Linked DNA regions of Homo sapiens: region 1 is linked to region 2. The links are contacts of gene promoters, found by promoter capture Hi-C in human tissues and cell types (Jung and others, 2019). All regions are on one chromosome and are shown on one strand. Each heading gives the region's core, a stretch centred on a gene start or on the middle of the fragment in contact. The rest is flanking DNA. Distances are from core to core; before and after follow the strand shown.

What was found. The method cuts DNA at HindIII sites, captures the fragments that hold promoters and counts their contacts. A contact is called where the count stands out against the background at its distance.
Region 1: a contact is called between a fragment that was not itself captured here and the fragment with the promoter of UNC119 in region 2, in 1 of the 25 tissues and cell types used here (dorsolateral prefrontal cortex).

What each region holds. Positions count from the first base shown.
Region 1 is chr17:28,386,913-28,392,997 of GRCh38, forward strand. SARM1 (sterile alpha and TIR motif containing 1) reads left to right here. Exons shown (of 9, transcript NM_015077.4): 6 at 1,262-1,364; 7 at 1,438-1,627. Among named protein-coding and RNA genes, the nearest start is that of SLC46A1, 16 kb to the right of the region's middle. The HindIII fragment of the contact is 5,996 bases long and covers 1-4,703 here.
Region 2 is chr17:28,551,294-28,557,936 of GRCh38, forward strand. UNC119 (unc-119 lipid binding chaperone) reads right to left here and starts at 1,331. Exons shown (of 5, transcript NM_005148.4): 1 at 1,045-1,331. The coding sequence starts at 1,264. PIGS (phosphatidylinositol glycan anchor biosynthesis class S) reads right to left here. Exons shown (of 12, transcript NM_033198.4): 9 at 5,534-5,679; 10 at 4,873-4,973; 11 at 3,558-3,768; 12 at 2,094-3,202. The coding sequence ends at 2,927. RefSeq lists silencers at 948-997, 1,058-1,507. The HindIII fragment of the contact is 10,966 bases long and covers 1-6,643 here.

The DNA.
Region 1 (6,085 bases), core at 456-2,955, 160 kb before region 2:
ATTTTTTGTGGAGACAGGGTTTCACTATGTTGCCCAGGCTGTTCTCAAACTCCTGGCCTCAAGCAATCTTCCCAACTTAGCCTCCCAAAGTGTTGAGATTACGGGCGTGGGCCACCGCACCCAGCGCAAGATTTCATTTTTAAACAACAGGAAAATCCTAGGGCAAAAATAGCTTACAAAAAATAGTTTGTATAGTGAGTAGGGAGCCATGCATAGTTTTTAAGTGGGAGGAATGACATGCTCAGATTTGGATTTTAGAAAGATGTTCTGGTAGCTGTGGCAAATGGACTACACTGGGCAATTCTTTTCTTTTCTTTTCTTTTCTTTTTTTTTTTTTTTAGTCAGAGTCTCACTCTGTCGCCCAGGCTAGAGTGCGGTGGTGCATTCTTGGCTCACTGCAACCTCTGCCTCCTGGGTTCAAGTGATTCTCGTGCCTCAGCCTCCCAAGTAGCTAGATTACAGACATGTGCCACCATGCCTGGATAATTTTTTGTAAAGACAGGGTTTCACCATATTGGCCAGGCTGGTCTCGAACTCCTGGCCTCAAGTGATCCACCCACCTTGGCCCCCCACAGTGCTGGGATTACAGGTGTGGGCCACTGCCCTGGCCTAGACTGGGCAATTCTAGCTGGGTTTGGGGAGGCCATTGAGGAGGCTGGCATTGGAAACCTGAGCCAGGGAAGGGCCCGGAGGCTGGAGTCCAGTATGTTTAGTAGGTAGAATCCTCAGAATGCGGTGCCTGGCGCTTAGTACTGAGCGTGGCTCCAGAGGAGCAGAGTGCTGTCTGTTTTACTCACTGCTGAATCTCAAGCACTGAAGACAGTCCTGGCACACAGCAAGTGCTTAGGATGTATTTGTTGAATAAATTAAATGGGAGGCAGGAGTTGAGGCTGATACCCAGGTGTCTGGCTTTGGTGGGAAATAGGGAAGAAGGAATGAGGGGGAGATTTGGGGTGTGTTGAATTTGGAGTGATTGTGGGCAGCTGGCTGTTCAGGTCTGGAGTTCCAGAGAGAGGTCAGGGCTGGAAGTGCATGCATATCAATGTCCCTAGAACACAGTGCCTGCCTCCTAAGAGGAACCCAACAATAACATGACCTTCCTCCTGGAGGCCCCATTTCTCCTTTTTGGGGCAGGCCACCCTCCCCAGGCTGGGCTGAGAGGGCTTGGTGGACTGGGGACTAAGTCCACAAGGGATGATATACCTGACAGTGAGTGATGCGGAGGGGCCACCTTCACCATGCTGCCTATTGCCCACTTCAGAAATGCTACACTCCCCGCTGCCCTGTACTGGTGGCAAACCCAGTGGGGACACTCCAGATGTCTTCATCAGCTACCGCCGGAACTCAGGTTCCCAGCTGGCCAGGTGAGGAGGGGCGGGCGGGCAGCGACGGGGCGTGGGGACAAGGCTGTGGCACTGACACAGGACTTACTTGCAGTCTCCTGAAGGTGCACCTGCAGCTGCATGGCTTCAGTGTCTTCATTGATGTGGAGAAGCTGGAAGCAGGCAAGTTCGAGGACAAACTCATCCAGAGTGTCATGGGTGCCCGCAACTTTGTGTTGGTGCTATCACCTGGAGCACTGGACAAGTGCATGCAAGACCATGACTGCAAGGATTGGGTGCATAAGGTAGGTGCCTGCCTATGCTTCTGCGGTCCCAGCATTGGCCTGTGGTCCAGAAGATAGGGTCGTCTTCTATTCCTTCTTGTCTGCACATCCCGGCACACTTAGCCCTGAAGCACCTCCTTGGCCCAGCTGGAAGTCAGGAACCACAGCTCTGACTGTAATAGGACTTTAGCAAACCACAAGGGACAAGAGACTAGGCTTTGGCTCTCTGAGCCTCAGTTTTCTTTTTCTTTTTTTTTTTTTTTTGTTTTTGAGGTAGAGTCTCGCTCTGTCACTCAGGCTGGAGTGCAATGGCGTGATCTTGGCTCACTGCAAGCTCCACCTCCCGGGTTCACACCATTCTCCTCCCTCAGCCTCCCGAGTAGCTGGGACTACAGGTGCCCGCCACCACGGCTGGCTAATTTTTTTGTATTTTTAGTAGAGACAGGGTTTCACCGTGTTAGCCAGGATGTGAGCCTCAGTTTTCTTTTCTGCAAAATGGGGTAACTTACCTGTTCCACTCACCTTATAGAACTGTTGTGAGGATCAGAGAGACATAAAAATGCTTTGAAAAATAAATTCCATGAGAGACAGGAGAGCATAGCGACAGGCAGAATGGAATAGTTGTTGAGAGCTCAAAACTGAGAGTTTGAATCCTGGCTCTGGCCTTGGGCAAGTTACTTAACCCCGATAAGCTTCATATTTATTTCTGGAAAGAGGGTATAATAATAGTATCTAACTCCCTAGAACATTGTTATAAGGACTAAAAAAGCCAAAATTTGTGAAGTGCTTAGCAGAATGGCTGGCACATAGTAACTGCTCAATAATGGTAGCAATTATTATTATTAATATAATTATTATAACTACTATATCTGTTTAATTCATCATTGTATTTTCAGTGCCTGACGCATTGTAGGAACTTATTGAATACTAACAGAATGCATTGATGGATAGCTCCATATTGCATCTTCAGGTTATTAATCATTAATCGGTCAGTAGGAATTGGAGTTGGGGCTGAGGGATGCAGTAGTCATCTAAGAGACAGGATGAGACAAGCAGTCAGCTCAGAGACAAGAATATGCCCAGAGGGCTGGGCACAGTGGTTCACACCCGTAATCCCAGCACTTTGGGAGGCTGAGGCAGGAGGATCACTTGAGGTCAGGAGTTCGAGACCAGCCTGGGCAACATGGTGAAACCTTGTCTCTACTAAAAAAATACAAAAATTAGCCAGGCATGGTGGCGCACACCTGTAATCCCAGCTACTCAGGAGACTGAGGCAGGGGAATCGCTTGGGCCCAGAAGACGGAGATCACACCACTGCACTCCAGCTTGGGCAACAGAGTGGGACCCTGTCTCAAAATGACTAGATCGCATACAAGTTGGTGTAAATGCTGAGCCAGGTAAGCAAACATCTTGCTTGCCACAGGGGTTTGGAGAAGGGAGAGAGCATCAAGGTGTCAACGAAAAGAGTCAGACTCTATGAGCGACCATGGCCTGTGACACAGCCCTCAGGAGACCCTGAGAACACGTGCCCAAGGTGATCAGGGCACAGTTTGGTTTTATACATTTTTGGGAGACACGAGACATCAATCAATACATTTAAGATGTACATTGGTTTGGTTCAGAAAGGCAGGACAGCTCAAAGCAGGGGCTTCCAGGCTATAGGTAAATTTTAAATTTTTCCAGTTGATAATTAATTGAGTTTATCTGAAGACCTGGGATCAATAGAAAGGGAATGTTTAGGTTAAGATAAAGGGTTGTGGAGACCAAGTTTTATTGTGCAGAGGAAGTTCTCAGGGCAGACTTCAGAGGGAGTAGGTTATAAAATGTTTCTTATCAGACTTATAAGGGTGCCTGGCTCTTTGTTGATTATCTCCTGAGTCCGGAAAGAAAAAGAAAAAAATGGGGGGAAGGGGATTCTCTATAGAATGTGGCCTTTTCCCACAAGAGACAAACTTGTGGAGCAATTTCAAGATATGGCAGGGAAATATATTTGGGGTTAAAATATTTTTATTTCCTCCCTTATTATGTGATGTTATGCTAGAGTCAGGTTAGAAAGCAGACCACGCTATATAGGGTTAAAATTAAAACCTCCTCCGATAAGACTTTATGGTTTGTAGGGCATGACTCCCTAGGCTCCTTAGGTAGGAATTTGGGCAAGATAAAAAAAAAAAAAATCAGAGTTTAGTCCTCAAAGGACTGGAATAATCAGGGAAGACTTCATGGAGGAAGCAGGTCTTGAGAAGAATCTTAAGAATCTGGGTAAGTGGAATAGAAGGCATCCCAGGCCAGGGTAACAGCATGAGCAAAGGAATAAAGGTAGGGAGGAGAACAGTGCTGAAAGCCCACATACATCTTGGTACTGCTTTCTCCATATCACAGATGAAGAAACTGAGGCTCAGAAAAGTAGAATAATGTTCCCCTGGCTGCACTACTAGTGTAGAAATCAGAAAAGCTAGGCTTCAAATTCCATCTATCTGACTCCAAAGCTCATCACTTTCCCAAGATCCACACTGCATTCTATGGCACAGCTCTGAGGGGGTGTGAGGGGAGGTGATGGGGTAGGGCTGGATTCGGTTGACACCAGAGATGATTGTATCTCTTCACAACTCCACATCCAGTGATGTCATGTTGGTAGCTTGTCATCAGCCATGGTGGGAGTATTTACACCAAGGAAATTGGCAACCACTACAAATCAAAGTTTTGTTAGTTTGGTTGATTGGCTGGTTGGGTTTTCTTCCCCCATGAATAGCTAGTTACTATAAAGTTAGCAGCACACCACTGGCTGGATAAGAACCATGGAAACCAGGTAAAGCAGTGTCTAAAGGCAGGAGAAGACCTGTGCTTAAAGCACTGGAAATCAAGGAGCCCATGAAGGAGAAGATGCCAGGGCGGTGGGTCTTAGGATGAAGGCTCTGACACTGGAATGCAGTCCACATGGAGTGTGGAGTCAAGCCCCAGAGGCCATGTAGGAGGGGCTGAGTACTAGGCCTGGTTTGGGGAGGGGCACTGGGGCAGTTGAGCATCCAGGAAGAACATGGCTGATAACCCAGAGCACGTGGCAGGCAGCCTTTTGAGAGAAAGAAAAGAGTGTCTGTGAGCTCCATGAGACTTCAGACCTTGCCTCATTCATCTGTGTCCCTGGTGCCTAAAACCATGCATGGTACAAAGGAGGCTCTATGCAATTGCACCAAAAAAAAAAAAAAAAAAAAAGAGAGAGAGAGAGAGGCTGAGGCTGTAGAGGAGTTTATAGAACAATTGAATCAATGATTAAGCAGACAAGTGATACTGATGAAGCTGAGATGCCATGCCTGGGAGAGCCATACATATCTAGTAGATTTACCAGGTTAGAGGACTTGACTCCGTTTTTTTTTTTTTTTTTCCAGTAGAGATAGGGTTTCGCTATGTCACCCAGGCTGGTCCCGAACTCCTGAGCTCAAGCCTGGAGTTCAGTGCCTGCCTCGGCTCCCCAAAGTTCTGGGATTAGAGGCATGAGCCACCGTGCCCAGCCAGAGGACTTGACTCTAATTGTTTTCGTTCTCAACCAGCTAGGTGATCCTGAACAAACCATTATCCCTTTCTTTTATTTATTTAATTATTTTTTTTTTTTTGAGGCACAGTCTTGCTCTATCACCAGGTTGGAGTGCAGTGGTGAGATCTTGGTCGGCTCACTGCAACCTCCGCCTCCCGGGTTCAAGTGATTCCCCTGCCTCAGCCTCCTGAGTAGCTGGGACTACAGGCACACGCCACCATATCCAGCTAATTTATATATATATATTTTTAGTAGAGACGGGGTTTCACCATCTTGGCCAAGATGGTCTCGATCTCCTGACCTCGTGATCCGCCCGCCTTGGCCTCCCAAAGTGCTGGGATTACAGACATGAGCCACCACACACGGCCGCCATTATCCCTTTCTTGGCCAGCCTCTGAATCTGTGCGATGAATAATTTGTACTGTCTTTGGTTTTGTATAATTCTGGATGAAACAAATTTCTAAAAATTTCCAAATAAATTGCTGCAGGCTCAGGATTCATTCCAATGCTCAGCAGAAAGGCAGCAGGGCTTGGCTGAAACAGCCTGGACTTGGACTCTCGAGGCTTGAGTCAGAGGACCGGCCCCTCGTGGGCTGGGCGTGTGTGTGGCTTAGGAGGAAATCCCTTCCTCTCTGGGCTTTTTTCTCTCCATCTGTAAAATGGAGCGGCTCCCCAGGAAGCCAGTCAAGGACGAAGTTACGCATGTTCTTTCCCCAGGAAGGCTCCACTTCCCAAGAATGCTTGGCACCCCTTGTCGTCCCAGCAGATGGCAAAGAGGTGAGAGGAGCCTTTGTCTTGGACCGGCCCCAGAGGCTCCGTCATCCCTCTTTGGTTGTTTCTGGTGCTTAATTGCCTCTGGTTTTAAAACTCCTTTCCCTGAAGCCACATTAGTGGGTAATCAATAGGGAAAAACCACAAGTGAACTGCACTCAAAAAAGTAAAATCCCTTT
Region 2 (6,643 bases), core at 81-2,580:
CACTGTCTCTCCATGCACCTTTCATCCTTTGAGGCTCATCCAAAGCCTCTGCTATGAGGTTTCCTAGCCCTCGTTCCCTGCCTATGATGACCCCCTCCCCTGCCCTGAAAGCCAAGTTGTTTGACTCCAGGCAGCAGCTATGAGCAGCCCTGTAGGGCCCAAAAATACTACTGATCAAAGAGCCCAATGTACACAGCATGCATAGATGCCAGGCACTGTACAGAATCAGAGGACTTATCTTCACAATAATCTTACGAGAAAGGTATCATTATCCCCATTTTACAGATGAAAAGACATGCTCAGAGAGGTGAGGTTACTTGCCCAAGGTCACACAGACAATTATATGGCAGAGTTGGAACTCCAACCCAGGCAGTCCAGCTCAGAAACTCTTAACCACAGTGGAGACCAAGCCTCCCTTGATGACAGAGCCCCCAGAAGAGGACAGGTGCTAGTCCAGGCTTGGAGGGACATTATGCCACTCCCCATGAGAGGAACCACAGCCAACACACTAAAGCTGCCTGCTCAGTTTCTTTCCCGGGGAAGAAAATGGCCCAAGTCTTCCTGGAGGATCAGGGTGAGGGTATTAATGGTTGGGGAGACATGAAGAGTCTGAATGCCTCCCAAGTAACTCAGCCTCCACCTAGCCTCCAGCGTGGGGGCTGAGGACAGGCTGCACTCAGCCCCTCTCTTCATTAGTGCAGGGACGGGCCTCAAAGCGCTCTGGAGACTCCACAGCTACAGGGCTATGGTTGCAGCTGCTGCCGCACGTACCTCCACGCTGGGAAAAGGGGACGGGCCCCTGGAAAAGGAAGGAATAAATCTCGAAAGGGAGAAGAAGGAGGCACAGAGAGAGATCAAGGGAAGGGGGTACACAGAGATCTCAGACCTGGCGGCAGAAGGGAGAGCAGGGGACACAGGAGAGGGGACTCGGTGGGGGAGGGGAGGCGGGAAAGGGGGCGGGGGCCAGGGCTTGGCGCGCCGGGAGGGCCCCTCGCACCCTCTCCCCTTCCCACCCGCGGGCGGCGCTCCCTCGCGGGTGCTCACCACCGGTGATCCGCTGCAGCCCCAGCACGTCCTCCGGCCCGATCGGCTGCTTCCTCTGCAGCGGCCCCGGCCTGGGCCCTGGGCCTGCGTCCGGCTCCGACTCGGACCCAGATTCGGATTCCGCAGGCGGCTGTGGTATGGGGGCCACGCTCTGGCCCGAGGGCCCCGGAGCGGACTCCGTCGCCGTCCCGGCCCCACCGCCGCCCTTCTTCACCTTCATGGCCTTGCGGGGCCGAGGCTCGCCTGCTGCTGCCGCCGCTGCCTGCGCCGGCTGGAGCCGGGGGAAGTGGGAGCATCCGCAGCCCCGCCCCCGGCCGGGGCCCCAGGTACTGCCCCGCCCCGGCCCCGCCCCTGGGGTGGGCCCTGCGCTGATCCCGCCCGCCGCCCGGCCCAACCCTCCCGAAATGCGACGGGCGCGGGGGATGGGAGTCGGGGTATCCTGCCCTGGGCTTCATTCTGTTTTTCTAACACTTTCTTGTACTGGTACTAGTGGGGTCCTGACTACCTCTCCGCTTACTCATTGTGTTCCAGCCTTTCTGCCCGTGAGTTCCAGGCTCAGGGTCTCTGCTTGGATGGTCTTCCCCAGATGGCCTCTTTTCTCCTAGTCACAGCTCAAATGTCATCTGCTCAAAGGGCCTCCCTCACACCCAGTCTGAAGTCCTTCCCCCTCAGTCACCATCTGACCAGCCTGTTTTTGTCTTTCTAATGCATTATGTGAAATTATTTTTATTTGTCCGCTGACTCTTCCCCCTGAAAGCTCAGCTCTGTGAAAGCACTGGTCCTGCCTACTTTGTTCTCTGTAGGACCCCTGTACCTAGCAGAAGGCTCCCTGCAGCTGGTGCTCAAGACTTTTTTTTTTTTTTTTTTTTTTTTTTTGACCTGATGAATTAGTATCTCAGGTAAAAAGCAGATGCTAACAGCCTTGGGCAATCCAGCTAGGAAGGGCACATGGCCACGTGGAAGCAAAGTGGACCTGTGGGCACAGGAGGACAAACACCAGGAAACTGTTACTTACGCGTGAATGCAGAAAGAGTAGAGCTCAGACTTTGTATCATTCCAATTCATATTCAGCCAGTGTTTATTAAGAGCCTACTACACGCCAGACACTTTACATGCTGATCACATTTACTCCTCACAACCATCTTGTAAGGGAGACATCATCAGTGCCATTTGAACAAATGAAAAACTGAGGCTCAGAGAGATTCAATACCTTATCCAAAGCTCTCCAGACAATAAGTGCAAAAACAAGGATTTGAATTCAGGACTGTTTGATTCCAAATCTGGAACTTTCTGGAACCTCTGACACACACACACACACACACACACACACACACACACAGCACCATGTCCTGAGCTGCTGCCTCCTGGACTCCCGCCAGACTGCACCTGACAGACAAAGCCAACTAGGAGGGAGGGGAGTGAGGGAGAAGGTCCCACAGGTGACCAATGCCTGGCCCCTTCATGACAGCAGGGGCTAGGGCTGTCCCACAGGGACTAGAGAGAGGTGTGGAAGGCAGGGACTTTCCCATAATGCTCCCTCCTCTCAGTGCACAAGTGTGCTATGTTGAGAAATGGGGCAAAAGAACAAACAGTCCTTGCCACAGAGGGAGACAGGCAGCAGCCTTATCAAACAAGATAAGGAGACCCGGATGATGTGCCTTTTGAGGCCCCTGGTGGTGGAGGAGGATTGAGCCAGGTGAATGGGAAAGGAAGAAAAGATGAACCCATCTTGGAGTGTTGTACTTTGGTTGCTGGAGAGCCAACAGTGGAGACTGGAGACAAATATTTAAGTCATTCCGGCAGGCCCCATGTACGTGCCTCACAATCTAACACCGCCCACCTTGGCCAGAAAGGAAGGCTTCCTATGGAGGTGCTGCCCTGCTCAGTCTGTCTTCTCAGGCTTTCTCCAGGACTTGCGGGTCTCCAGGAAGATCTTGACCAGGGACAGGAGGATGGGCACAGCCATAGGCAGGAAGAGTGGGATGTAGATGGCAAACTTCTGGTCATCAGGGAAATAAAGGAGGTGGAGGAGTGACGGGTCAAAGAAGGCAAGCTCAGAGGATGTCACAGCTTCCTGGCTGGCGACAAAGGCAGATGCCAGGTGCCCAGACGCCAACTCTTCTGCCGACTTCTGGACGGCAGCTACAGCCTTGTACACCTAGGAAGGAGAAGGGACAAGAGGGTATACCAGTAAGTCCTAGGCATTGGTGGAAAGGGTGCTGGGCCTTACTGTGCCTTCCATCTACCAAGGAAGATGCCTGGAGTTCATCCAGGATCTATGGAAGTCTTTCTACAGGGATATGGTTTATTTTCCTAGGGTCAGCTTGAAACCTCGCACTCTCATCTGCACTCCTGCTTGGGGGCTGGTACTGCCGTCTAGAGGAAGGCTGGGACACTAAAGATGGCAAGCCCACACATACCATGGACCTCACAGGCTCTCTGGTCTCACCACACTCTGGCCCTCTCTGGCTACTCCAGTCCCAAGCTGCAGAATCCATCCCCTGCCTGCTTACCTCAGATGCCACGTCGTCCTTAATGACAATGTTGCTGATCTTGCCCAGAAGCTGCGCCAGGGAGGTAAGGGTGGTGGTGGCTGTGGCCAGGTTCTCCACTGACCGAGCCCAGAGCAGCCGGTCTAGCTCCCAGGTCATTAGCCCTTCACTCGTAGGCCCTGAAAGCAGGCATTTTGGAGGCAGCTGGGGCTGAGCAATCCCAAAGAGCAACCTGTAGGAACATCGGAGTAAGATCAAGGTGGCTGAGACCACAAGGCGGGAGATCATGGCTAAGATTTCTCAAATATCTGTCCTGAGCCAGTGATTTTCAATCTTACCCAGAACCATAGGGGTTAAAGGGAAGTACCTCAGGGTCTTGGGGGCATAAGGGGCAACACCAAACAAGTTGGCCCCAAACGCTGCTTCAACAGGTGTTTCTGCTTTTACCTGTTTCTACATTAGATTTCCAAGATCTTGTTTTTTAAAAAAAGGTTCCATGGCTAAAATACTTCTGATAACACCAACTCAGTTTAATCCTTTCACCTTTTCTACCCTCTCTTTGAACAAATGGGGCCAATGGGACTTAGCATTAAGGGATGATCCAGGACTGCCTTTGCCAAGGCACATGTGCTGTGCTTCTCTAAGCCTGCATCCGTGAGAGACACTGCTAGTCAATCAGAAGAATACTCTTTCCTAATGAGCCCAGATACAGCCTTAGAATCCTCAACACAGAGCCTCAGGCAGCCACTCTCAATCCATCAGGCAGCATAAGAATTAACAGCTATTTTCTTAAGCAGCCCTAATCACACTCCATGGACCTGACATTCATGAGTCTATTTTTCTTAAAACTGGTTTTGCTGGCTGGGCACAGTGGCTCACGCCTGTAATCCCAGCACTTTGGGAGGCCTAAGCGGGTGGATCACGAGGTCAGGAGTTCAAGACCAGCCTGGCCAAGATGGTGAAACCCCGTTTCTACTAAAATTACAAAAAATTAGCCAGTTGTGGTGGCGGGCACCTGTAGTCCCAGCTACTCGGGAGGCTGAGGCAGAGAATTGCTTGAACCCGGGAGGTGGAGGTTGCAGTGAGCCAAAATGGCACCACTGCACTCCGGCCTGGGCAACAGAGCAAGACTCCGTCTCAAAAAAAAAAATAAATGATTTTGTCACCTACTAGTCCTTCTTAGAAGGATGATGGGATCCTTAGAAACTTTTCTTGGTTTCCCTGGGGCTCTAGGCACAGCCAAGATATCCCTGCCAGGTAAGACTTGATTCCACTTTGCAACTCCCCTCTACAGCCAAGGAGACTATGTCCCCAAGTGGATCATCCAGGACCTCACCGCAACTGTGCCAGGAACACCTCCATCACTCGCACCATGTCCACCTCGACTCTCACTGGCAGCACTGAGGCATTATAGGTTTTGGAGTCAACATTATATACCTGAAAGGGGGAATGAGATTGCCACAACATCATACCAGGCCCTTGCACAGCTCTGCCCTAGGCACTCTGGAGAGAAAAGGAAAACATATTCTGTGCTCTTTAGAAGCTATAAACCTCATGGTATAGCTAATATTTTTTGAGTACCTACTACGGAGAGCATTAAATACATTATCCCAATTACCCCCTTGAAAGTCCTGTAGAACATATTTTTTTCTTATCCCATTTTAGAATTCTCCCCCATGAGAAACTTCCAGTCTAACAAGGGAGACAAGGCTCCCAACCTTGCAAGACTCCCACAAATAAGGCGAAGATCTAAGATGGACACAGAATGATCCTAGGTAAGGGCAAAGGGTCACAGTATAGAAAACACTGGCGGAAACAAAAGTGGGGCCGGCAGAAGAGGGGCATGAGCACATAGCACCCTCACCTTCCTGGTGCCTGCCCCTCCCACAGGCTGGGCCATGGAGGACACCAGAAGGAAAACAGAAGGAACACAGTTTCAGGGACACCTGCCTGTCCCAGAAGCATGGGCTCTGGGGTCTGCGTAGTGTGACTATTACCATAATGCCACCCCAGCGGGGACTATGGAAGGCATTGGTGGCCACTGGAGCGCCATCCTTGTCCTGAATGTACAGCGGTGAGTGTGCAAGCTCAGGCACGTAGAGTAGAAAGTTGAGCACAGGGTACAAGGAGGCAGCACTGGATCCTGTGGTATAAAGGGAAAGCAGAATATCAAAACATGCTGGACCTGGACCTTAGTCCCAGGTCGGCCTCTAACTTGCTGGTCACTCACTCTGGGACTGATTCCCCAACTAACAATCATTAGGATATCCTCCTGTCCAGGGTGTCTCTAGTAAAGGGCTTCAGAATGTTCTCCCGAGATGTGCCATACCGATGGAAACATAGTCCTTAGCTCCAAAACACCCCCGAATTCTCCCTCCTCAAAGGCCCCTTGACTGTCTACGACAGCTTTCTTGGCCACTCCCACAATGTACCCATATTACTACAGATAGTTTTATGCAAACCAGAAATCTGACCTTATGTCAGTTCCCTGCTTAATATCCCTCAATCACTAGCCACCCATATCAGGTTAAAGTTCAAACTCCTTAACATGGTCCTTTATGACCTGGCTCCTGCCTGCCTAACCGGCTTCATCTTTGGTCACTCACTCACATTTCAGCCACACTAAACTACTCTGAGCTTCCTGAATGCCTAAGCTCTCTCACTTGTCTGCATCTAAGCTCACAGTTCCCTTTGCCTGAAATGCCCTTCTTTTCTCTACTCAGCACTGTCATAAGGTAGTCCCTCAGTCAATGTTTGCTGAATGAATAAATGAACGGAGGAATTTTCTAAGGCCTCACATGCCACCCCCTCACAATCCTTGGGCCACACTAGCCTGCCTCTGGTATCTGAGATTCCACAATTAGATATACTCACTTTGGTTTGCCTGTGTTACAGTTCTTAGTCACACCTCCTCTTCCTAGTTTCCACCCGAAAAATGAAAAACTCTAATACTAGCTTCAAGGTTATTCAACCTCAATCAGCAGAACTGTCAATTCAAATTCTGCCCTCAAGTACTTTTGCTGTTGTCTTTCCTATGTGTGTGACAGCCTCTCTCCTAGATGGCTTTTAGGGAGATAGACCCAGCCTAGTCATTCATTTGTAAAAAG